Linked DNA regions of Homo sapiens: region 1 is linked to region 2. The links are contacts of gene promoters, found by promoter capture Hi-C in human tissues and cell types (Jung and others, 2019). All regions are on one chromosome and are shown on one strand. The core of a region is centred on a gene start or on the middle of the fragment in contact, and the rest is flanking DNA. Distances in the headings are between cores, read along the strand shown. Region 1 overlaps ABCC9 (ATP binding cassette subfamily C member 9). Region 2 holds the start of ABCC9 (ATP binding cassette subfamily C member 9).

Region 1 (5,745 bases), core at 2,231-4,730, 74 kb after region 2:
TTGCTTTCCTAAGCATGTATACGATTTATATTGTATCTTATTTCATAAAGTTTTGTATTGTTTTATTTAAAATAACATAGTAGAGTTTGAAAGATAAAGAAAATTTTTAAATATTGTTTAAATAATCATCTGAAGTTGTAATAGACAGAAATGCATGTACTGAAGTCCTGTATAATTATAAAATATGGGCCACAAATTTCTGAACTTCATGAAAGCTAGGCAAAGAAGGAAACGTGAGGAAAAAAACAGAAACATTTACTCAGTAGAGATTGATTTTCTCTTTTTGGAGAGAGCTGTGAAAGAAATCTGCCCAGCTGTGGTTTATGCCTATAATCCCAGCACTTTGGGATGCTGAGGCAGGAGTATCACTTGAAACCAGCAGTTCGAGACCAGCCTGGGCAACATAGTGAGACCCTATCTGTACAAAAAAATTTAAAAATAAGCAGGTCATGGTGATGCATGCCTGTAGTCCTAGTTACTTGAGAGACTGAGGCAGGAAGATCTCTTAAGCCTAGGAGTTTGAGTCTGTAGTGAGCTGTGAATGTGCCACCACACTCCAGCCTGGGCGACAGAGTGAGACCATTTCTCTTAAAAAAAAAAACAAAAAACTAAAGAAATATCTTCCATATACCTTATAAAAAGTCAATAAAAGGTTAATTCTTAATGTCTTCAATATTCCTAAAATTTATTCAAAAGTAAATTCCATGTGCCAATTATTACAAATAAAATTCAGAATATAATACTAGATTATAGATTATATAATAAATGTTATGTGAAGGTTTAGAGGGCAGGCAGGAGGGGGTGAAGGATGTGGTATGGGTAGTATCAGAACAACACAGTCTAAGTATGCAGATCTTCAACATCTAGTTTGATCCAGGAATGAAATTAACTACACTTGGAAAAATACATAAATTGTACATCAGTTGGACCATCTTCCATGTTTAGTATGGAATACAGATATTTTATTTCTTAGTCCTTTCTTTTTCATTCAACATTTACTGAGTACCTCCTTCATGCCAAACACTGATTTAGGTATCAAGGATATAGAATTGAACAAGACAAGACAAGTCTCTATCTCATGCGGTTACAGTCTAGAATGTGGCCTGTGTATAAGTAATCAACAAGAAAAAGACATAATATTAGACTTTGATAAATGCTGTGACAATGATAAAACAAGGCAATATAGTAAAGGTACTATACCTGTGAGGTGTGTTTGAGGATCCTAAAAGGGTCTAGAATGGCTGGTAAATACTGACTGATGCAGGTGCAAGCTGAGGCTACCTGGAAAAGGAGGAAAGCATTCTGGGTATGCTGTGGAGTTAAGATTTTGTTCTAAGTTCAGTGGGAAAATATTGTAGAAGTTTAAGTAGAGGAGTGATTTACATTTTTGCAAAGATATGATGTACAATTTGAAAAAATGATTCGGACTTGTGGTGTGAAGAATGAATTACAGAGGCAAGAGGGAAAGTGCGGGAAACCATTTAAGAGTTCATTTCACTAATTCAGATGAGAGATGAAGGTAGTTTGATGTAACATGGTAGCTGTGGAATGAACCAAAGTGAATAGATTCAGCATATACTTTGGAGTCAGCCAGCAGGATGAAAGTGTAAGAAGGAAATTGAGATAATTCTGAGTATTTATAAAATTCCTGTAACCTAAAAATTATCTTTTTATGAGCATTTGCCTTACTAGACAACAATGCTATCTCTTCGCTGCAGAAAGGACCGAAGTTTTCTTCAAAAATGTTTAAGTTGGTTCAACACACAAACAAATGAAAATGTAATATTCTAATAGATTGAATAAGTTAATGCAAATTCTATTTTTATTTAATTAAAAGAATTACTTATTTTTTTCATAATATCCTTAATATCTGATAAAACATATTTTAGGATCAAGAAGATTCAGAGGATACTGACATTCTTTTAAAGAGTTATTTGTAATTACTCTTTTCATTCCAGAAACAAAAGCTGTATGCCCAGTCCAATAAAGGCATATAACTATTAATTAAAGCTAAGCTAATTTAGAAATTATTGATATTCATAAGCTGCTGCTGTGTAAATGCTTAGAAGTCCTTTACTTCAACAGACTGAATTCGTTTTTTTTAAAGCTCAAAACAAACCAAAACAATAAACTAAATGATATGGTAAGACACCAAATACTTTGCTATCATTCTTTCACCATTACATGTGTCTCTGATTGCATAAATTTTATTTATTTATTTATTGAGACAGAGTCTCACTCTGTTGCCCAGGCTGGAGTGCAGTGGCATGATCTTGGCTCACTGCAAGCTCGGCCTCCTGGGTTTATGCCATTCTCCTGCCTCAGCCTCCTGAGTAGCTGAGACTACAGGTGCCTGCCACCATGCCTGGCTAATTTTTTGTATTTTTAGTAGAGACAGGGCTTCACCGTGTTTGCCAGGATGGTCTCGATCTCCTGACCTCATAATCCGCCTGTCTCGGCCTCCCAAAGTGTTGGGATTACAGGCGTGAGCCACCGTGCCCGGCCATAAATTTTATTTTTGAATGTGTCCTCATGCACAGGCATGAACAAAATCGAGTAAAGTACTCTGACCTACTGCAGCAGGAAATATTTACTTTGGGCCGGAGAAAAGGCATTGTTGTTCATCCAGCACACACCTGTGTGGGTAGAACGTGGAACATACAGATGCCGATAGTTGTTTCCTTGGGAATTGCTTCCTTTGACCTAGTCTGACATATTGTAGACCCAGAAGAGAAAAGATGAGAGAGAGGAGAGAGGAATGAAAAAAATTCTCCAAAATTGTCAGAATGCCAATGTGCACATCAATCTTGCATCCAAGTGTGCTTCATATTTGTTGAAAAACAAATGTTCTGCCTGACTGAAGTCCTTTCCTGGTTGTCATGATAAACAATAATTTCTACTGATATCTTAGGAGCTAGAACTAAAATGCCTTATCTGATGAATAGTTTCAGAGGAGTGTCCAGAATGCTTTTTAATTGTGGTGGTAATGATGTGAGAAACAGCTTGTCATTTATCTTTGTTTTCCTTTTTTTTTTTTTTTCTTTTCCCTCTCACCCATGCCATCAACCATCCTCCTCTTCAGGCCCCTTCTGTCCTGACATTCTATCTCCCAACATCTTAGTGTAATCAGCTTTGTAACAGTGCTTCAATTATTTTCAGACAAATGGAGGAAATATTCCTTTTCATGTGACTTTCCTGGCATGAAGGAATAATAATATTAAGTCAGCTTTCCTGGGTCAGATGTAATATATCATGTTTGTGCCAGCATCTAGTTTCCCTTCTTCCAAATGTCATTCCTGATTTAAATTTGCAAAAGTCACTCTCCCATTCCATAATATTATTAACCATAATACTTGGAAGTTGCTAATACACTGTGTCGACTTTAACTTTTACTCTGGGAGGAAAATACACACAAATTCTACATGGAGAGGTTTTCAGAAGTGAAACTTTATTCTGTTTTCTAGAAGGGGATTTTCTATATGACCTCTTTGCATTCTCCTGTTGTCTTGAGTGCTGTAGAGTACCACATTGAATGGTGGAGGATGAGTCTAGACAGAGCTAAATCTACTTCTTTATTTTGGAAGAGAAATTATATAACCTTCCACAACTGAATTTGATTAAACATATTGATATGTGAGAGGGCCGGAATAGGTAGTCTCTGGAAGTTAAGGATTATAACATTATTCATAAAAATGTTAGTGAAATAATGGGTTAATTTGTTTTTGGAAGATGATTACCTACAAATGAGTCTAAGTTTACCTCTTTTTTTCTTTCTCTGAAAGAAAAGGAAAATATACGTAAATCCTTCAAGGAGAGGTTTTCAGAAGTGAAGATCCCCTATGTGCTGTTTTGCTTTTTTCAGGACCTTACTGCATTAATTAACCCTTTTCTCTTATAAATGTCTTTATTTATTGCTCTTCACACTCCATTATTCCCCACCCATTTTTTAAATAATGGTCTTTCTTATCTCTCAATCAACTGGAACATTTCTCTTTTTAACGACCTAGTCCACCCACACTTAACCTCTGTTCTTCTCTTTTACTCTGTGCATTGCAACCTGGATGAGAGGGTCTCACCAATGACTGCCTAAGTGCTAACTCCCAATAATTTGTCCTCAGTCCTACTTCTCCATAGATTTTGAAACTCTTCACCCATCGACGACTCCTTGAAATCAACTTGGCTTCTTGGTTTCCGTGACCCTTGCATTTATTAATTTGTTAAAAAATATTTGTTGCACACCATTTATATGCAAATCATTGTATTAGTTCTAAGTTGGGGGAGAAATAAGTGAACAAGAGAAGGCAGGCCCCTATTTTCATGAAGCTTACTGTTTAGCAGGGGAAACCAAGAGGAAGTAAGAAAATAATTTTATGGTTATTTTATTAATGTTTTATAAAGACTAGGAAGAAGTACAGTGTTTTATAAGAACGATTATAGGTGACTTGACTGAGTCAAATCTGTGAGGTTGGCAAAGGATTTCTTTTATGATCTCCAGTCTTGTTCCCTCTAGTTCAGTTGTTACATTCTGTGATCACAGTGATATTTCTAAATTGAACCTGTATCTCTCTCTTGTTTAAACCTTTTTCAGTAGTTTTCTTTTACTTTTAGGAAAAGTTCAAGCTCTATAAAATGGATTATGAGCCCCTTCATTATCTGGCTGTGCTTACTTTTTAAGTTCATTGCCATTTACACCTACATTTCAGCCATGCTGAATATACATCACTTCTTTGTGTAATCAGGATACCTCATGGCCTTCTAATACATATTTTCTCTGGTCTGAAGTACTCTTGGCTTTTTTTTTTTTCATCTAGCACACTCTTAATTTTCCCTCTGACATCAACTCTATTGTTTACTCTGATTTGCTAAAAGTGGCTTGGTGCTCTGGTTCTTTGCTTCTTTGTTTTTGGTTGTTGGTTCTTGATCAGTGCCCTACTACCATCTTTTACCCCACCTGTCTCAGCCCTTATTCCCTTATTATGCTCCCACAAAAGTGAAAGTGGTGTGAAAGAAGGAGTGGATCTTTCTTGTTTGCTGTATCTCTAACGTGTGGCACTAGGAAGTGATCAATGCATATTTTTTAACTGATACTGAATAAATAGAGTCGGAATTTAACCAACCTTTATTGAATAGATTGATGAATTCTTAATCCATATCTCTGCGTTGGGCTGACATTCTCAAATGTCCAACAGGTATTTACACATGTCTAATGGGCATTTCCACTTGAATGGCCAGAATACAAATTAACACATTCATTTCTGCCACATACTCACTCTTCTCTCTTCCCTGTCTTCCTCAAATTAGTTAAAACTAGTGAGGTCACCCATTGGATTTATACCACAGAAAACAAAGTCCAAATTTCTTGTTATCTAAAGCATATTGCGTGGAAAATATTATTCATAAAAATGATCATTTCCCTATTTTTTATCAGTAACTTAAATCAGGGAACAATTATTATTGGGAGGAAATTTTTAGTCTGAGGTTGCCTTTTTTGCCTCTGTCAGCCATCCCAAGATGTCATTAGCAGTGTGCAGTAGTGAAAATGATCCTTAGTAACTCTAAACCAAATATCATTAGGTAGCATAATTAGGTAAATTTTCTCCACAAAAACATACAACATTTTGCAAAGTCAAATAGAATCAATTTTTGGAGTTTCTGTAGGCTTTAATTATTTGTATGGTTATTGAATTCACGTCTGTAATGTGTATGTTATTGAATTCAACTGACCCTAAATTATAAAAAATTAGA
Region 2 (5,634 bases), core at 1,799-4,298:
AAGTGTCTGGATATAAGATAAATATACTTTTTTTGGACAAAATAAATAGTACATCCTTAATAGCAGTACAAAATATTAAAACAAAAATATGAAATTTGTATGATCAATCTTTACAAAATATGCACAGACCTGTATAAATTTAATACTGGGATAAAAGGAAGACAAATAAATGGGAAACTACATTTCTGGGTGAAGAGACAAAGCACTAAAAATATGTTCTTTATAAATTACTTCCTAGTTTTAATGAAATTCCAATAAAATCCCCAAAAGAGAGGAGCTTTGAAAATTTTGAAAAGAGTGAAAAGGGGACTGGCACTGTCAGGGTTACAATATAATTTAATCTCTGATAATCAAATCAGTCTAATCATAGCAATATAATAAAAAATTGAAACAGATCAATTGAACAGAATAGGTAGCCCGGAAACAGATCTTATTATGAACTAATTATGTGTATATGACAAAAGTGGTATTACACCACAATGCAGAAGAAAAAGATTATTCAGTAAATGGTGTTGGTGTAACAAATAAAGTATAAATGCAGATTTTCATCCCATAGTGTATGCCAAAATAAATTCCAAAATCAAATTTTTACTAAAGCCTTTAAACAAATATAAATGAAGGTAAATATTTATTAACTAAAGTGTTCTAATACATTGCAAAGGCAACAAGCAGCAAATTTGCCTACGTAAAATTTCCCTTAGGAGAAAGTTCAATGAAGTGCAATAGACCCTAGAGATCTGACTCATCACTAGCTTCTATGTCTAGCACATAGTGTGTGCTCTAATAAATCTTTACAGAACACATGAAAACTTTTTTCTTACTTTTTTGAAAGGCAGCAGCACTATCATTTTTTAACAATATGACAAATTGGGAAAAATGTGTCATATATGAAGCAGGATTAGTATCCTCTTATTAAACATTTGATTAGTATACTCTTATGAAACATTTATACAAATGGTAAACTTCATTAAGACCCATGAGGTACACAAGTATGTGAACAAACTGCCACAAAAGAGGGGATACAAAGATTAATCAATAGTGGGGAAATGTTGAATGTGAATAACAGAATTGAATATTATCTGTCAAGTTAAAATATTTTTTTAAAATAAAAAATAGCAATATCCAATGCTGGTTTGAGTATAAGTGTAATAGCTCATCTCATACAATTTGGGGGACTTAATACGAACTTCATAGAAGGGTGATTTTGCATTCTATGTTGACAGCCTTAAAAATATCTACCACTTTTGATCCCGTAATTATTTTTCACATAATTTATCTTAAAACATTACTTGTTAGAAAGAAAAAAAGTTTATGAAAAAAGGTCATCATATGATCACAGATATTAGTAAAATTGGGCAAATACATGTCAAACAACGGGAAAATGAATCTTATGGTATAGCCTTTCAATGGAATAGTATATAGCCATTTAAATTATTTTAAAAATTATTCTATATTTATTTAAATTATTTATCTTTATTGTCCCATTAAACAGAGGAGGAAGCTGATACACAGAGGGTTTATGTGACTTGTTCAGTCTCTGAACTAACTAGCAGGATGTGATATCGAGCAGGCTGCCTTCCTAGTCCACACTCTTAATCAATGCACCATACCGCCTGTGTTTGTTAAAACATAAAAAAAAATGTTTTCAGTAGTTTTATGGGTGTGTGTGCACAGGTGCATCTACGGGGGGCTCCTTGATCTCCTCTGTACACTTTCACATCTTCCAAAGTTTCTACAATAAGCATGATTTTTAAACATTGTAAATGACCTTAATGAATTGTAATATTCTTTTATAATCCTCAAGTAAACTTCATTTTGTGTAGTCACACTCAAGAGTTTTCATCTTGGGATTATTGGCACCCCCTATTTCCAGTTCTCTCTCCATAGATGCCCTGGAGAGCCTCTGGCCTCGCGTCCAGCTTGCTCACCCGGCCACCCTGGGCTGCATCCATAGTACCAGGATCCTCACTGTTGAAACGCTCTCTTATTTCCCTGCGCCGCTGCAGACAGCTCCAGGGTAAAGTTGTCAAGCGTTCAAAGGCCACAGGAACGGAGTCTTCGGACCCTCCCAGGTTTCGGCCCCATATGGCCTCGCAGATTCCTAGCGGCCGCGGGTTCAAGTCCCAGCCGCTGACGCAGGTCAGGCACTCACCCGGAAGCGCAGCGACCTTCCCAAGAGTGGGGCGCCGGCGGAGAAATCCCCTGGGACTGGCAGGGCTGGAGTCGGCCTGCATCGCACAGGCCACGAGGCCACCGGTGTTTAGGGTTCAGATCTGGGGACCAGCGCCAGCAGACCGCAGTCCTGCAGCGGCGCCCCTTGAGGACGGCATGCGGAGCCTCAGGGGCAGAAGTCCGCCCGGCTGACCATCCTTTATTAAAATACGACAGTTCCTGAAAACAATGCTTATCTCAAGCTGACTCAAAACTGGCTCTTGAGAAAATCCGGTGTTAATTAAAGAGGGTTGTCGGGGACAAAATTCACGGCTTGTGTTTCGCGGGGGAGTGGTTGTGGGGTGATCTTAATATAAACACGTTATCTCGAGAGTTAATTATGTCTCTGGTTGGAAACAGGAGAAGAGGGTGACTGTTTACGCAGTCCATGGGAATCAGCGTCTCACTTTAGGGGACGGTGGGCAAGGGTCGCCCTTCGATAGCGCGGCGGCTGGTCCACCAGAGAAACCAAGTTTTCTAGGTCGCCGGGGAAAAGCGGAAAATTAGACTTGAGCCAGCCTTGCTCCTGTGAGACATTCGTGCACTCATAACCCAGCAGTGGGTGCCTCTACCTAGAATGAGCCCTTCATTTCCCGGATCCGTTCAGGGGGAAACAGCGAAATCCCCAAATCCGCTTCCTTACGTGGCTAATAAAGGGGTGCTTACAGAGCATGGAAAAACAAAACAAAGAAACAAGAATACCTTGAGTGTTTTGACGTTTGAAAACCCGACTCCGGAGAATCATGGAATCATATTCCAAGTTTCAGTGTCTAATGAAGTTTAAGGGGACGCCTATTACTTGGGTTTGTAAAATCGCGGCGTCGCGCCCGCCCCAAGTCAAAGCTGAGCAGAGCAGGGATGGGGAAGGTCTCCGGCCCCAGGCGCGGCGCGCGGGGCTTCTGCCCAGTTTCCTGCTTCTCAGCCGCGGTGTCTGCCCCGGCCCAGAGCAGTCTGTGCAATTTAGAAACTCGATAGGAGGCAGCAGCTGGTCTCCCACCACCCTAAAAATAATCCGTTCCGGCGCACTGCGTGCTTCGCCTAGGGGAGGAAAACTGTCATCGGAGTAAGTGAATCCGTGTCTTTTACATGAATGCCATTTAAACATTTTTAGGAATAACTGTAAGTTGTCGATTTTGAGCTAACATTTCTGCTATCCAAAAACGCCCTCGCACTCTCTCGCACTTCTCGGCACTTAGCTTTCGCGATCGCTATTTCTAGAATTAAGGGACGAGGCCCGGCTCGAGAAGTGAAGGGGTGGGGATCAGGTTTCCAGTTTTACTTCAAAACTGCCGTCTCCTACTCAAATCAACTGGAAACAGTGAAAGGAGTTATTATTATTAGGAGTTATTATTACCGCCTTTCTTGTAGACAATTCTTGTATGTTCAAGAAGTAGTTTTCTATCTGCTTAATTTTTGTTACTCTTTACTTTTTTTTAGGAGTTCTGCGTCCGGGTTTGAAATTTACATCTTAAGACAGTGTAGGAAGTCGGTGTTTTGAAGGTAGCTCAAGTGCACCGGCAGGGGTTTGAAGCAGCGTGAAGCTATTGCCCAAGGTATTTATTTTTTGCTTTATTTGTTCAGTTTGGGATTTTTTTTAAAATCCCATTGCAGTATCTAAGGAATACCTACTGAGTAATTTCAACATTTCTTTTGGTGTGGGATGGTACTTCACAGCCACTGAAGAGTAAATGGGTGGATTCAGATCAGGCACTAAGTCAGAAGTCAGTGGTCATTTTTGCCAGTGATTTTCCCACTTGGATCTGTCATAGTTATAGCCATGGTAGCTAGCTAACTAGCTATACATCTTCTAGTTTTTATTTCATGAACTAGGGACTGAATAACTTCAAAGAAGTGATTACAGCATTTGTTTTTGCAAGTGACATCCATCCTGAAAATGCTCTAGATGATGATAAAGCCCTAAGTTCTTTAAAATGTCCTGCTTCTCTTTCATAACAGAATTTGGTTAATCTCTAAACGATTAAAGAATGAATCCTTTTATATGTAAGAATGAAAACTTTTATTTAAATTTAGCATGTTTTCTCCAGGTGTTTCCAGCATTTTAAACTCTCTGCAATTGCTATTCGATCAGAACTAACGCTTTCTGCTAAGTGAACAGGAAGGAAGACAAGTTTTCACTTGCTTTACTTGTAGTCTATTTCCAAAGGACAGGGCTGGCCACAATAAATGGTGTACCTTATATGCCTCAGCACTTAAATGTGTTTTTAGAATTAAATCAGATAACTACTGCTCGTGTCTTGCAGAGGAACCAACAGACTGGATAGGTCAGGTATTATATTCACCAACTAAATCCAAAATGTATATGTTCTAGATGTGTGGAATTTCATGTAATGCATTTCGAGGAATAAAAACACTGAGGGTGCGATTCTTGCCATGAAATCGTAAGTTAGATAATTAGGAGTATTTCTATTTTATGTTTTCTGCTCCATAGACATACGTTAGAAGCAAAATTTCACTTTGATCTTTGTTTTTAAAGTTTATTCAGTCAAGTTCTCCAACTCTATCACCTCTCATAAACAACTGAGCATATTTCGATGGCTTATGCTTGTGGAAAGGGAAACATTATATCTCCCCATCTGCTCTCCCTTCTCTCTCTCTCCTTGATGCTTGGGCCTCCCTCAGTGCTTAGCTGAATCTAAACAGCTCCAGAAGGGGTGGAGCTGAAGGATGTCAGGTGACAGAGTTTAGCCAGCAAGAACAGCGATTTATACCCTTCCCCAAACATTCCCAATTGAACCTGGTGTCTGGGAGGGAAACATTAAATGACAATTGGAAATTTAAGGATTAGGAACGTGGATTGAATAAAATGCCTTTGATAAACACAATAATTATCAATATATCAGCAATAAGTTTACTGCCTCCCTCTTTTTGTCCATGTTGGGTTGTAATGGAGGCTGGCTGTTAGAGTGCCACATGGACTCTGGATGTTGGATAAGGAGACTACGGGTTAAAGGGAAAGGATAAATGAGGAGTCAAAAGAAAAGGTGAAAGGAGACATGCGGTAAGGTAATGCACAGGTTCAGAGCCGGCCGGAAATGTGAAGTTAGAGTTTATGGCAGACAGAAAAATCGTTCTAAAGCGTTTACTGTACCAACTTGAAGTTTACACTTTTGTTTGATTGCATCATTTCTTATTTTCCTATCTTTTAGATCATATACCCCTACAATATACCCACAGCTACTGAGACTACTGTAATCTGATTCATACAGTCTAAATAAAACCACAGAAACTGTTTCTGACGTGCACCATTGGATTCCTAGTAACTAGCACGTAGTTAGCATCAATAAGTGTTTTTACAGTTCATTAGTTAATGGCATAGAATTCCAGATATCTGGTGTATGTCTGAAAATGTTCTTAAATTTTTCAGGTGATTGTACTTCTCTGAGATTTTTTTTCCAGTTACAC

Evidence for each region. Contacts are between HindIII fragments. The study calls those that stand out against the background at their distance.
Region 1: a contact is called between a fragment that was not itself captured here and the fragment with the promoter of ABCC9 in region 2, in 2 of the 25 tissues and cell types used here (dorsolateral prefrontal cortex and heart left ventricle).

Annotation. Positions count from the first base shown.
Region 1 is chr12:21,865,118-21,870,862 of GRCh38, reverse strand. All of the region lies in intron 18 of ABCC9 (ATP binding cassette subfamily C member 9), which reads left to right. Among named protein-coding and RNA genes, the nearest start is that of ABCC9, 73 kb to the left of the region's middle. The HindIII fragment of the contact is 8,385 bases long and covers 1-5,745 here.
Region 2 is chr12:21,938,840-21,944,473 of GRCh38, reverse strand. It overlaps ABCC9 (ATP binding cassette subfamily C member 9), which reads left to right and starts at 3,048. Exons shown (of 40, transcript NM_020297.4): 1 at 3,048-3,274; 2 at 3,649-3,764. RefSeq lists an enhancer at 2,638-3,615. The HindIII fragment of the contact is 18,026 bases long and covers 1-5,634 here.